Regions from separate parts of the Homo sapiens genome. Here all the other regions are linked to region 1. The links are contacts of gene promoters, found by promoter capture Hi-C in blood cells and fetal thymus (Javierre and others, 2016). All regions are on one chromosome and are shown on one strand. The core of a region is centred on a gene start or on the middle of the fragment in contact, and the rest is flanking DNA. Distances in the headings are between cores, read along the strand shown. Region 1 holds the start of TPRG1-AS2 (TPRG1 antisense RNA 2). Region 2 has its middle 120 kb from the start of MIR944. Region 3 overlaps TP63 (tumor protein p63).

Evidence for each region. The method cuts DNA at HindIII sites, captures the fragments that hold promoters and counts their contacts. A CHiCAGO score of 5 or more calls a contact.
Region 2: a fragment that was not itself captured here is called in contact with the fragment with the promoter of TPRG1-AS2 in region 1 in 1 of 17 cell types (M2 macrophages); the score reaches 5.6 in M2 macrophages.
Region 3: a contact is called between a fragment that was not itself captured here and the fragment with the promoter of TPRG1-AS2 in region 1, in 2 of 17 cell types (activated CD4 T cells and naive CD8 T cells). The highest score is 5.5, in activated CD4 T cells.

Annotation. Positions count from the first base shown.
Region 1 is chr3:189,237,942-189,242,558 of GRCh38, reverse strand. It overlaps TPRG1-AS2 (TPRG1 antisense RNA 2), which reads left to right and starts at 1,965. Exons shown (of 3, transcript NR_046722.1): 1 at 1,965-2,062; 2 at 2,173-2,282; 3 at 3,603-3,873. TPRG1 (tumor protein p63 regulated 1) reads right to left here. Exons shown (of 6, transcript NM_198485.4): 4 at 3,650-3,826. RefSeq lists an enhancer at 2,883-4,082. The HindIII fragment of the contact is 9,051 bases long and covers 1,581-4,617 here.
Region 2 is chr3:189,951,559-189,956,175 of GRCh38, reverse strand. No RefSeq gene overlaps it. Among named protein-coding and RNA genes, the nearest start is that of MIR944, 120 kb to the right of the region's middle. The HindIII fragment of the contact is 2,124 bases long and covers 1,552-3,675 here.
Region 3 is chr3:189,845,566-189,850,182 of GRCh38, reverse strand. The region is part of intron 4 of TP63 (tumor protein p63); the gene reads right to left. Among named protein-coding and RNA genes, the nearest start is that of MIR944, 18 kb to the right of the region's middle. The HindIII fragment of the contact is 3,498 bases long and covers 389-3,886 here.

The sequences.
Region 1 (4,617 bases), core at 716-3,215:
CTCATGAACACAGGCACAAAAATTATCCATAAAATATTAGCAAACTAAATCCACTAATGCATAAAAAGAATAATATGTCACAACCAAACATGTTTACCTTAGGAATGAAGAACTGACTTAATATTTGAAAATCTTAATAAAAATAAGACTTTCAAACATTAGACAAGCTGATTAAAAAATAAATATGCATAAATAAAAAACGATTAATAAATGGGGAATAACTCAACCAGATATTGACACATAATATAAGGTTATAATAATTAAAACCATTTTGAGCTTTAAGAGACACAAATGGAATGGAATAGAAAATCCAGGTACAGAAACACACAGAGAAAAGTACTACATTATAAAATAATAAACATAAAATATCAAATATATGATATCGAGAAATCTAGCCTGCCATCTGGATAAAAATTCAAGTTGATTGCATACCTTCTTCTTTACTCAAGGCAAATTTTAGATGAAATATAAGTTCGTTGTTAACAGTAAAATAAAATTACTAGACAAAAACTTGGAAATTTACTTTATAATTATAGTATGGAGAAAGCTTTTCTCAAAAAGACATAAATTTAGAAGCCTTGAAAGAATGAGAAATTTGATACCTGTATTAGTTTGTTTCACACTGCTGATAAAGACATACCCCAAACAGGGAACAAAAAGAGGTTTAATTGGACTTACAGTTTCACATGGATGGGAAGACCTCAGAATCATGGCAGGAAGCAAAAGGCACTTCTTACATGGTGGCAGCAAGAGAAAATGAGCAAGAAGCAAAAGCAGAACCCCGTAATAAACTCATCAAATCTCATGAGACTTATTCATTATCACAAGAATAGCACTGGAAAGACCAGCCCCCATGATTCAATTACCTCTCCATGGGTCCCTCCCACAACATGTGGAAATTCTGGGAGATAGAGTCCAGGTTGATATTTTGGTGGGGACACAACCAAACCATATCAATACCCCAAAACTAAAGGTCATGAAAAATAGCATAATAATGTTAAAAGAGATATGACAAACTGGGAAAAATTTATTTGCAACATATAGGACAGAAAAGGAATTCAGTTCTCTAATACACAAATAGCTCTTACAAATCAATAAGAAAAAAATTAAACATCCCAACAGGAAAAAAAAAATGGGCTATAGTCATAAATAGGCAGTTCACAGAAAAATAAATAATATGGCTTTCTAACCCAAGGATAAAAACACATATCGTTCTTCAAATTCTAGTGATGCAATTTGAACCCCAAATAAGAGACTTTTCTTTACTATCTCACTGGCAATGTAAAAAGGTTTTGTAATACTTGATATTGGTGTGGGTGTGTGGAAAAGATTACCCTGATACTTTGTGAAAGTATTAATTGGTAGCACCTGTTTGGAAGGCAATTTGACAATACTCATCGGTTAAAATTTACATGACTTTGACCTAAAAATTCCACTTCTAGAAATCCATTAATACATTAAAGGAACAATTACATGTTTGTGCAAAGTCTTGTAAGCAAGGATATTTGTAGCAGCACTTTGTAGTAGCAACGGTAAAAATAGATATACATCAATGAGGGACTGGCTAAATAGATTAAGCTTAAGAGGTAATATTCTGCACTATTAAAAAACACTGAGATTGATCTATAGATGATTATATAAACCTCCAAGTTATATCACTGGTAGATATTATAGCATGAGGCAGGACAGTTTATGACATGTGCTTTCATTAGGTAAAATAATATGTAATAAATATGTGTGTAGATATGTACTTTTAAACGTGTATAGGCATATGTACACAGAGAGACCTTGATATGGTTTGACTATGTCCCCACCCAAATCTCATCTTGAATTGTAACACCCACAATTCCCATGTGTCGTGGGAGGAACCCGGTGGGAGGTGATTGAATTATGGGAGCAAGTTTTTCCTGCGCTGTTCTCGTGATAGTGAATGAGTCTCATTAGGTCTGATGGTTTTAAAAACAGGAGTTTCCCTGGACAAGTTCTTCTCTTGTTGCCACCGTGTGAGATGTGCCTTTCACCTTCTGCCATGATTGTGAGGCCTTCCCAGCCACGTGGAACTGTAAGTCCAATAAATCTTTTTCTTTTGTAAATTGCCCAATCTCAGGTATATCTTTATCAGCAACGTGACAATGGACTAATACAGAACTTTTTATTCTTTTATATTTATAGACTATTTATTTAAAAATACACAAGAAACTGTTGACTATCACCCATGGAGGGAAGGCTGAAGAACCGAGGGTCTGGTGTAGAAGAGAGAGTTCCTGAAAATGAACATTTTTGTAATATTTAAATATATATTTTACAATGTGTAATATTATTATTGAAAAAAATCAACAGTTTTAAAAGCTAATGAACTTAATAAATTAATCACTTTTTGCATCCATGAAAAGAGTAAGCAAAAATAAGTTTTTTATGTAGTATGCATAGTGTAAGGAAAGCAAGTCACTTGATGAACTCGTGCTTTTTTCTGTATATTGAAAAGATTTCAGACCCTACTATGTGCTAGTCCTAATGCCAGGTGCTTAAAGGACAACAAAATCAACATTTGCCCGCAAGGAATTCACGGTTCAATGGGAAGACCTCACATTCAGTCTTAGAGAAAGACTGTTGTTTCTCTTGCTTAGATCTAAAATGTTTAGTAAAGGCAGATGCCTCGAAGACTATGACAGGAACTTACCTAATTCAGCATTCTCCTCTGTAGACCTCACCAAGTCTCTTGGTAATTGTCAACATCTGTGAAACAGTTGACACACCTCACCACCCCTACGTCACTGAACTTCCAGGAATGATCCCAAGAGACATTTTATAAGAAGAGCTACTACCCATTTTGGTTCTATCCACTGAGCTTTACAGAATAATTTCAATTCCCAGAGGCATTACTCTTTTTAGCTACCGCTTTGGAATGTTCTTCCCCTTTGGTTCTCCTTCTTTGGCTAACTCCTGCCCAATATTAAATATTGGCTCAAGTGTTTCTTCTGAAAGTTTTCTCTGATTACGTGACACACAAATTAGGTTGAGTGCATTTTCCCCATGTTCCCACAGCTCTTTCTTCCTTACATTAGCTATTTATTTGTCACGTCCTCATACTAAAATACAAATTTACTGACATGGTTTGGCTGTGTCCCCACCAAAATATCAACCTGAATTGTATCTCCCAGAATTCACATGTGTTGTGGGAGGGAACCAGGGGGAGGTAATTGAACCATGGGGTCCAGTCTTGCCTATGCCAGTCTCTTGATAGTGAATAAGTCTCACGAGACTTGATGAGTTTAACAGGGGTTTCCACTTTTCCTTCTTCCTCATTTTCTCTTGCTGCGGCCATATAAGAAGAGACTTTCCCCTCCCGCCATAATTCTGAGGCCTCCCCAGCCATGTGGAACTGTCAGTTCAATAAACCTTTTTGTATTCCCAGTTTGGGGTATGTCTTTATGAGCAGTGTGAAAACGAACTAATATATTTACTTAAAGTTGTATCCCTGGAGGCTGACATAGAGTAGGAACTCTAGTTTAATGATTTCAACTTTCATGATTTCACTATCCTCCCTTGGGTTCTCCCAGTTTACAGGGCCAAACTGAATTTTCGGCTTGTTTTCCCTGCAGGTCCATCCCTGCTGCACCACTTCTTCAAGTATAAGATATATACTCACTTGTCCAGGGACATCCCAGGGAAGGTGAACTTGCCCAGGCAGATGCGATAGACAGCGCTCAGAGGAATCCGCTGCAGCTGCACACAACTCAGCATGATGAAGTCGTATTTGCAGATCAAGAGAGTCTTGTCTGTGACCAGTAGAATTCTCTCCTTCTCATTGTTCCAGTGGTCTATCCTATAGGAATCATCATAGCAAATAAAAATTGATGACACAGCCTAAGTTAAAAGCAATGACCTTCACATCTCTCCTAGCACAGAAAACAGTGAAGTTTGATCAACTCAGAAGAGAGAGGGGCTGAGAAATACCTAATACCACACCACTACCCCACTCAGTCTGGTCCCATGACTAAAGAAGGAGGAAAGGTGGAAGATGATGGAGAAATATTTTATCATCCCAGAACTCAAAGATAGTTGATTACCCACGATGGAATCCATTAGGGGAATACCCAGTGTGTGTTGTGTTAGCAGTCAACTGACTCATACTTCCCAACATTTTCCCAGTTCTCTAGAAAACTTCATAGAGGACATCTTCCTTCATGGACACCAAAAATATCTCTTTGTTCTAGCTGAATCCGTACCACAAATTTACTCACTACGAACTAGCCTACACTAATTTCCGAAGGTTGCACTGCTGACTGGAAGTAAGTCGGAGACTGGAACACAGGTCCGCTGTCTTCCAAGTTATCTCATTCCTATTTGCAGCTCATCCTACCATATCCTTGTGGTAGAAATGTAGTGAAACAAGTGAAGTGAGATTTTTATGAACCAGAGTAAAGTAGATAAGTAGATAAACTAGATAAGTGTTTACTGAATTAATTGGCCTCAGATGTGAGAGCCTTCCAGGACACACATGTAACATTCTGACTGAGAATTCAGAATTTCTCCAACAGAGAGAACAGAAATAAAATACAATAGCTTCTTGTTAAAAGAGAGTGAACATGGTTCATAATTCCCCAGACCGACAGC
Region 2 (4,617 bases), core at 1,364-3,863, 710 kb before region 1:
CCTTTCCAGACTTTAGTTCCCTTCTCTGAAAATGACATAATTGATTGTAACAAGGCCCTCCCTCCTACTCAAAATACAAACAAAGCAAAAAGAAAAAAAAGAAACCAAAACCATTTTAGAAATAGTCACAACCAAATTTATTTCTGCTAACATTTAGAGAGTTGTGAATGGTTTTGTTTTGTTTTGTTTTGTTTTTGAGACGGAGTCTCACTGTCGCCCAGGCTGGAGTGAAGTGGTGTGATCTCAGCTCACTGCAGCCTCCACCACCTCCCGGGTTCAAGCAATTCTCCTGCCTCGGCCTCCTGAGTAGCTGGGATTACAGACGCCTGCCATAATGCCCAGCTAATTTTTGTATTTTTAGTAGAGATGGGGTTTCACTATGTTGGCCAGGCTAGTCTCGAACTCCTGACCTCAGGTGATCCACTCGCCTTGGCCTCCCAAAGTGCTGAGATTACAGGTGTGAGCTACTGTGCCCGGCCGTGAATGGGTTTTTTATGTGTGTACCTGATTTTTAAAAACGTAAACCCAAATTTAGACCTAAAAGTTCTTGAGCTTTGCAAAGGTAGATTGCTATTTGTCCTCCCACTGTGAAGAGCTTGTTGGCACTCAGATTTGCTGATTGGAGGATCTGGGTGAGGATCTGATTTCTGTTTTCTGGCAACAAGGCATCAACATAGAAACAGTCTTTGTTTGGCTCCTTAAAGTTCCCACTTCCTGGGTGCGATGGGCACTAGGGGAGGGGCAGGGACTTCATCACTGATTCTTATATTCAGTCCCACAGAAAGTGGGTGAAGGCCGAATAGATGTTGTGTTAGAGCCACATCTTGTGCCATTTGCTGACAACACAGGGTAGTTATTCTTGTTTTGCCGGTTAACCATGTTGCTTTACACCTGAAACATCATGTATACACTAAAGCATTTACTTCTTAATCTGCTCCACATCAAACCATACATAATTTCATTCAAATATTTAGGGAGTGTCATCAGACAACTTAAAAAAAAGTGAAGCTTAGAAATTGCAGTTCGTATGGCACATAATCCCTTGTGTAGAAGGATGGAAAAGCCCATTAGGACATTTGTTGCTTTTACAGCTGAAGGAGGGCGTAGAAATCACAGTTCAATTTCATCTTTCTTTTTGGGTAGAAAGTGAGGCTTAGAGGTGGTAAAGATGATCCCATGGTTACAGAATTTGAGCAACAGAGCCAGAGCTAAAGCCAGGACTGTTGAACTTGGTTATGCAAGAATGCCTGTGGGAGTGTACATGGGGGCTGGAACCCTGGCACAGGGCTTTGTCCAGCTGGTGGAAGGGATGTCTTATTCTATTTGCCCAGAGATGGTACTTGCTTACCAATCTATGGACCTGCAGGGCTATATCTTTCCAGAAAGGGTGTCTTTTCTAATTCTCACGAAGTGCTGAATGTGCTTGAGTCAGCCTAGGTTAAATAGTCCAATGTGTATGAATAGTACATCTCATCTGTGTTATCTGAGGAATTACCGTTGGTCTTGGTGATGATCCTTCCCTTGTGTGAAAAGTCTGCAGCTCACAAAGCTTTTATTTTCACCTATATTATTGTTTTGAATGCTTATGACACAGAGCATGTTCACACACTGGGAACCCCAGGAGGTATTCTGGGCATGGATCGTGATGTCCATTTTGCAGATGAGGACATGGAGAGCAGTGGAGAGAGGTGATTACCTGGGGTCACGTGGCTCAGAGTGTCCAGGTCTGAGCTAGAAGCACAGTCTTTTGGGTCAGAAGGGAGAAAAGAGCACCAGGGTTGTTGCTCCCCTGGCCGTGCTTCTAGGCATATTAAATATAAAATAATAAATGTGAATAAAAAAGTCTGATTTTACCAAATCAAGAAAACCTTTTTCTCCTCTTTTATTTTCCTGCTGAGGGATGTATGTTGGCATACTTCCTCTTCTCTCCTCTGTGATATATTGAATACGAGTTGTATTATTCAATTTGATTCAGCCCTATTTTTAAAGACATACCTTGAGCCTTGAACTGCTTTTATGAAGCTCACAAAAGGGAAGAGGATTCTAGTCAGGTATCATTTTTCTCTCCCTCAAAGGCAAAAAGAATCTTGAACTTAAATTTCTTCTTTAGAAAAATCTGACACAGGACAGAGTGATACTGTGGATGGGCGAAGTGCTTTCTTCACAGCCCCGAACCTACATTGTTTGACAAGGAAATCTCAGTTTTAACGCACTCTTAAGACTTTTAATGCACTCTTCATCATTGACATCATAACATTTTTGGCACTTCCTCAGCTGAGGAGAAGCCATGGAATGAGTCAGTGCTATTTAATAATATATACCTGTGAATTTTAATTGAAGTACAAATGCTGAATTATTTCACACAAGAGAACCACAGGGAATGACTCCCTCACTGACGTCAAGAAAGGAGGTAATGGGGGCCGCCTCACCAGTTCCTTATGCCAAAGCATTGAACATTCTGAGCTGACTGACAGTGGTATGGCTGAGAAGTGGGAAAATGTTGACCTGTTCCCACATCCAGAGCACTTTAGGGAAACAGGAGCCATTGGCAAAAACTCCAGACCACAAGTCCGTGTTACAAGCCCTCTCTGCCTCCTGCCAAGAAGGCTGTGATGTGAAATGACGTCTCACATAGTTCCAACTGCCCACCCACAAATCCTCTACTCCCTGATAATTTGATGTTTCCAACAGGAGGCATATAGACTTTTTTTTTTTTTTTTTTTCTCCTGAACCTGGTTGATTTCTTCAAACACATCAAAACAAGTAACATCAGCCACTCATTGAGCTCACTGCTGGGTTGGAGCTGCAGACTCATTCTGTCAGAGCTTCCCCTTTACCTCCTCCTCCTTGTAATTCACAGTGTTTTCTGTGCCCACTGCTGACCTCCGAGGCTGGGCAAAGCCAAGTTGGGAACAATCTGACTATTGATTCTGTTTCACTCTACAATGGATGGCATCAGCTGTAAAAAGTTGGGTTAATGAGGCACCTCTGGCTTCAACTATCTTATTAAGGGCCCGCAATAAAAATAACCAAACAAGATGTTCCTATCATTTTTTTTCCAGACATGTTGCTGGGGAGGAAAATCTAAATGAATGCTTCGTTTAGTCAACATATGACACATGTTTTCTAGTCATTTTATATGGTACATTTAGGAGAAGGGAGAACAAAAGGTGAATAAGACATGCTGTACCCCCTCTCTTTATTTTGGTAGAATGGCCACAGAGGAGAGCCAGGGTAGCCTAGAGTTTGACAGTCTTTCTACCTTAACAGTCCCTTTTATAATTATCTGATATCTTCTGCTTTTGAAGGACGAATCAATTTCGAATAGATAAGGCCACGTGCCTTCTTGATTTGAGCCTCATTTCAACAGTGAATTGAGTGTTACCTATATATATGGGAATCTTGCCCTGGGCCTCTCTCATCAGACCTAGGTGCCTTCCCGCATGACGGCAGCGTGATGACATCGGTCCTAATAATCTTATCCAGACCCGAGGTAAACCCTCCTCTCTTATTCCAAGTTTATGTTTTTACCTCTGAGTTACTACCTGGTGGTGGGTGGAGGTAGAAATAGGGAATGGACAATAAGCATTACCTGGTATGTCTCATCTCTTTCCACTTGTTAATCGTATATTCCATTGTTTCAAAGGTTGTAATCGTGGTTGGCTTTATAAAGCTTTTTTATGGTCTTGAAGCACGTAGCAATCATATGTAACTACATAATTATCTTGAGAGACACGTCAATGCCATCTTCATTGTGTAAATGGGAAAAAACAAACAGGCACAGAGAAGGTGATGTCGTAAAGCCCTGGTCATGTATGAATTCATTTCACAGAGAGTTTTTGAGTGGCCGTGCCGTTGTAGGCTTAGGGAGGCATTTAAAGATGAATAAAATGTTATCCCTTCTTTTAAGGAACTCAAAGTGGAAAAAAACAGATGTAAACAAATGATCAACTTAAAGTAAGGTGAATGTTACGGCAGAGGATTGTGATAGGGGTAGGAGGAAAGGTCATGCAAGTGGGAAAGGAGTGGTTAGTGGTAGGGAAAAGTTGGAGAGAAGGTGACAGGTGAGCTGGATCTGGCCTGACTGATCTGCCACCAATACGTGGGAATGAGCCACTTAACCTCTCATTGCATCACAGTGTCCTCAGCTGAAAAGTGTTGCATTTGAACTGAATGATTTCTTGGGTTCTAAAGGACTGAGCCTTCGGAGAAAATGAGAGTTCAGAAAGTTGGTGTTTTGGGGTGGAGTGGAATGAGATAGCCTTCGGAAAGCAGTTTAATGAATGCTGTGAAAATCTTAATAAATACCAGTTAAAGAGTAAGTTTTATTGTATTCACTTGCAAGGGAGGTATTATTCAAGTGGGTAGTGTGAAAGCCCTGAAGGACTGAGCTTCCTTCTGAAAAGCAGAGGAGTAGCTACTATCAGAAATAGCTGACGTGAATTCATCGTTGAGACTAAAGTCAATGGGCTCTACCAGCAGCATATTCCTCTGCCCATAAGTCCATGAAACTTTCTACCCTACATGACCTGGAACTAATCTACTTCACTCAAATTATTAGACTTTCGTATCAGAAATGGGAATAATGACAATATTGCAGCACACAGGTATGTTGTC
Region 3 (4,617 bases), core at 888-3,387, 610 kb before region 1:
AGCCTCCCAAACAGCTGGGACTACAGGCGAGTGCCACCACTTCTGGCTAATTTTTGTATTTTTAGTAGAGACAGCGTTCTGCCATGTTGGTCAGGCTGGTCTCAAACTCCTGACCTCAAGTGTGATCCACCCACCTCAGCCTGTCAAAGTACTCGGATTATAGGGCATGAGCCACCACACCTGACCTTGAAATATTTCTCACTTAAAATGTTTAATACATAAATTATTATGAGTAGCACCAACCTGTAAACTTGTTACAGACCTATGATTTTAGAAGACAGAGAATACAGAAGATGTTAGAACTCAGAAGGAACATTATAGCACCTCTTGTCCAAACCTTCTTCTCCTAATTTTCTGATATAAAACTGAGACTTAAAGAGGTGAAGCTTATTAATTCAGCAAATATTTATTGAGCACGCGCTTCATGCCAGTCCTTGTCCTGGCTATTAGGGAACCAACGGTAAACCTTACACTAAGGGAGTTGATCCAAAGGAAGTACTGACATTAAAAAAAATAATTTCTAAAATTGTGACACATGTCTTGAAAAAAAAGCAAAAGGAGAGAAGGTAAAACATGGGGGTCTATTTAGCTTGGAGGATGTTTTGGGAAATGCTCAAACTGTGTTTTTTCCTCTCCTCTCACATTACCACAGCAACAATCATCAACACAGAAGATGACTTCTGTGGCCAAATGTGTGGGAGTTTTTCACCACTCACCAAGCAGCAGACACCAAGCTGGGTGTCCTCCAATTCAACTGTGACACTGTCTACCCGGAGATCTGTCATATCGCACAGGTTGAAGACTCAGTTCCCAAGACTCCACACACAACCAGGAGCAAATCCAGACCTCTGGAACTTCTGACCAACCAGCTTCAAATTGGGTTTTCCATGACCCCAATTTGGGTTTGATTAATTTGCTGGAGCAGCTTACAGAATTCAAGGAAACACATTTACTGGTTTATTATAAAGGATGTTGCAGAGGATGAAGATGAAGAGACATCTAGGGAGTGGTATGGGGGGAGAGGTGCAGAGTTTCCATGCCCTCCCTGGGCTTCAACCTCTAAAACTCTCCACATGTTTTACTATCTTGAACCTTGCTGAAACCTGTCCTTTTGGGTTTTTATGAAGGTTTCATTATCTAGCCATGATTGATTAAACCATTGGCAAGTGGTGATCAACTTAACCTTCAGCCTCTCTCTCCTTCCTGGAGGCTGGGGGGTGGGGCTGACTCTCTAATTGTGCCTTTGCCTTTCCAGTGACCAGACCCCCATTCTGAACCCATGAGCCAGCATTAGCATACAAAAAAGGCAGCATTTTGGAAATTCCAAGGATTTTAGGAGTTATATGCCAAGAAACTTGGACAAAGTCCAAATACGTATTTCATGATATCACAGAGGGTCAGGAGTGCATCCCTGATAAAATGATTTCTAAAGGTTGCACAACTAAATTTGGGTAATGAAGAAGTGAACTCAGATTTCCTTAGTTCTATGAAGATAATGCTTTTACTACAATATTATATTCTAATTACAGAATTTCTGTAGAAATCCAACTTGACATCTTAAAGCAAGGGCTTGGTTCTATGTTTCTATTACTGAGTCATCCCATTTCAAAGCATTTTTAGTTTAACACACATTTGCTAAGATTTTTTTAGAACATTAGATCAGGGGCCAAGTTCAGTGGCTCATGCCTGTCATCCCAGCATTTTGGGAGGTCTAGGCAGGAGTATTGCTTGAACCCAAGAATTTGAGACCAGTCTGGGCAATACAAGAAGACTCTGCCTATACAAAATTAAAAAAAAAAAAGCCAGGTATGGGGGCATCTGTAGGAGGCTGAGGTGCAGAGGATCACTTGAGTGCAGCAGGTTGAGGTTACAGTGAGCCATCCTCAGACCAGTGCACTCCAGCCTAGGCAACAGAGAGAGAGAGAGAGAGAGAGAGAGAGAGAAGGAGGAGGAGGAGGAGGAGGCAGAGGGAGGAAAAGGAAAAGGAAAAGTTAGATCAGGAAAATTCAAAGTTAAAGATCATTTGGTTCAGCCACTTTATTCGCCGATGAGGAATCTAAGCCCCAGAAAGGAGAAGAGATTTGCTCAAAAGTTCTCAGTAACTGGGACCATCTTGACATACAGACCAGTGTTCTTCCCCACGTCCCACACAGTTTTAACAGTTATAGTATGAGGCCAAAGTGGAACTGGTGTATTCGTGCCAGAGTGAATTTGAGTGAATAAACACATGATTAGAAAATATATGATTAGACAATCAAGTGTAAAGCTCAGAGGCCATCTTACTAACAAAAATAAAAATATGATCACCAAATTCTTACAGGAGTATATATACTTATTTTTAGTTAAGCAAAGAAGTTTGTCTAAGAGTTGAGGTTTTCTTCCCTAAAGTGTAACCATATTCTCACAATGGGAGCTTGAACATAAAAACAACACAAAATGCCCACTCATTGCTTTAAGAATCAACTCTACTCCATCAGGTCCTGGGTTCAATAAGTCAGCAGTGGGTTGCACTAACCTCGTTGCCTATTTAGAAAGGACCCCCAGTGCAACTGTGGCTCTTTGCATTATGCAAATCTAAGTGAAATCAGAAATAAAATACTGTGATGGGTGGGGGGAAATAAAGCACATCTGAAATAATTTTCAAAAACGATTGGCCTCTTCAAAGAAGTCATAAATATCTGACACTCACTGAGAAATAACTGGCAACTTACATGATCCCCCCAAATCTTGAGCTAATCATTCATAGAGGGGAAAATAGATAATGTATAGTGTTACTTCCATTTGATGATAATGATGATGATGATGATGATTATTTTTGTTATTCTAAGACTGAGCTTCGCTCTGTCACCCAGGCTGGAGTGCAATGGTGCAATCTCAGCTCACTGCAACCTCTGCCTCCAAGGTTCTAGCGACTCTCCTGCCTCAGCCTCCTGAGTAGCTGGGATTACAGGCGCCCGCCACCACACCTAGCTAATTTTTGTATTTTGGGTAAAGACGGGGTTTCACCATGTTGACCAGGCTGGTCTCAAACTCCTGACCTCAGGTGATCCGCCCGCCTCAATCTCCAGAAGTGCTGGGATTATAGGCGTGAGACACTGTGTCCGGCCTCATTTGATTATTTTATAATTTGGTGCAAATCTCTTAGAGAACGCAGTTACCAGATTTGCACTGGCAAAGTGACTCTTTAATAAAGAATGTGGAAGGCCAAGCGTGGTGGCTCATGCCTGTAATCCCAGCATTTTGGGAGGCCGAGGTGGGTGGATCACAAGGTCAGCAGTTCGAGACCAGCCTGGACAACATGGTGAAACCCCATCTCTACTAAAAATATAAAAATTAGGTGTGGTGATGCACACCTGTAATCTCTGCTACTCAGAAGTCTGAGGCAGGAGAATTGCTTGAACCCAGGAGGCAGAGGTTGCAGTGAGTCAAGATCACACCATTGCACTACAGCCTGGGCAATAGAGTGAGACTGTCTCAAAAAAAAAAAAAAAAAAAAAAAAGAATGTGGAAAACAAAGTGTTGGTAATCTTTCTGATGACACACACACACACACACACACACACACACACACCCTACTGGCCATTTCTGATCATATATGTATAAATATATAAAGTAGAACTTAATATATGTTCTTCTGTATACATACTGTACATATATTCAATAGTTTGTTCATTCCCAGGAAGCACCAGCCCATGGGCAAGAATGATGAGCCTAATATTGTACTGATCTTCAACCAAATTTCCTTGTATACTGACATGACAGTTTTGGCCATCCACATGAACTAAATATTTCAACAATGACATGGAAAAGAAGTTCCTGAAAACTAACAAATGAACTAAACTCCTTCTTTTTATAAAATATCCTTGTCAAAATGGATAAGTAAGCTTTGCCTAAATTTTGTTTTGCTTTGGGAGGGAGGGGAGGAAGTTTGGAATATCGAGGGGTGAGCTGCTTAAAGCCAAATATCATGTTCAAATAAAACAACTCCAGGGGATTTTGGAAAACAAGTAAATTCAGCTCCTTTACTAATAATATGTTGCAAAGAGAAGGGGGAAAAAAAAAGAATTCCAGTGACTAGGACCCTACCTTTACCACCTGCCTCAGTAGACATACTATATTACACGCTTTTGGCTGGCAGACTGGTAATTCAGTATCACAATGCATAGAGGTGCCAGGTAATATCAGCACACACCTGCGTAATTTTTCAACACCTCCCTTTCCTAAAGGTAGAATCAAAACCCTCCCTGCCTACTACACCAAAACCAAAAAACAAGAACTTTAGCTCTTTCATCCTCTCCCAGAAGAAATGCCATACTACATGCAAATCTCAAATCACATGGCTATCTTGAGCCCTAAATCTTAGAGACTATGGATGAAATAAACTCTCACGGAACAAAAAAAAATCATTAATTCTATAACCTACCTCTCTTCTCAATCCCTCTTCAAGGAAGGCAACTAGATAGAGTAGCATCAAAGCCCTCCCGAGTCTGCAATTCCAGATCAATTCACGTCTGGCATGTTCTTATACTGAGGTCTTAAAAAAAAGAAAACTCTAAGAAAGGCTTAAATACACCAACGAACATATTAGTCTCACTTTATGCCTGGCTTTCTGAATGA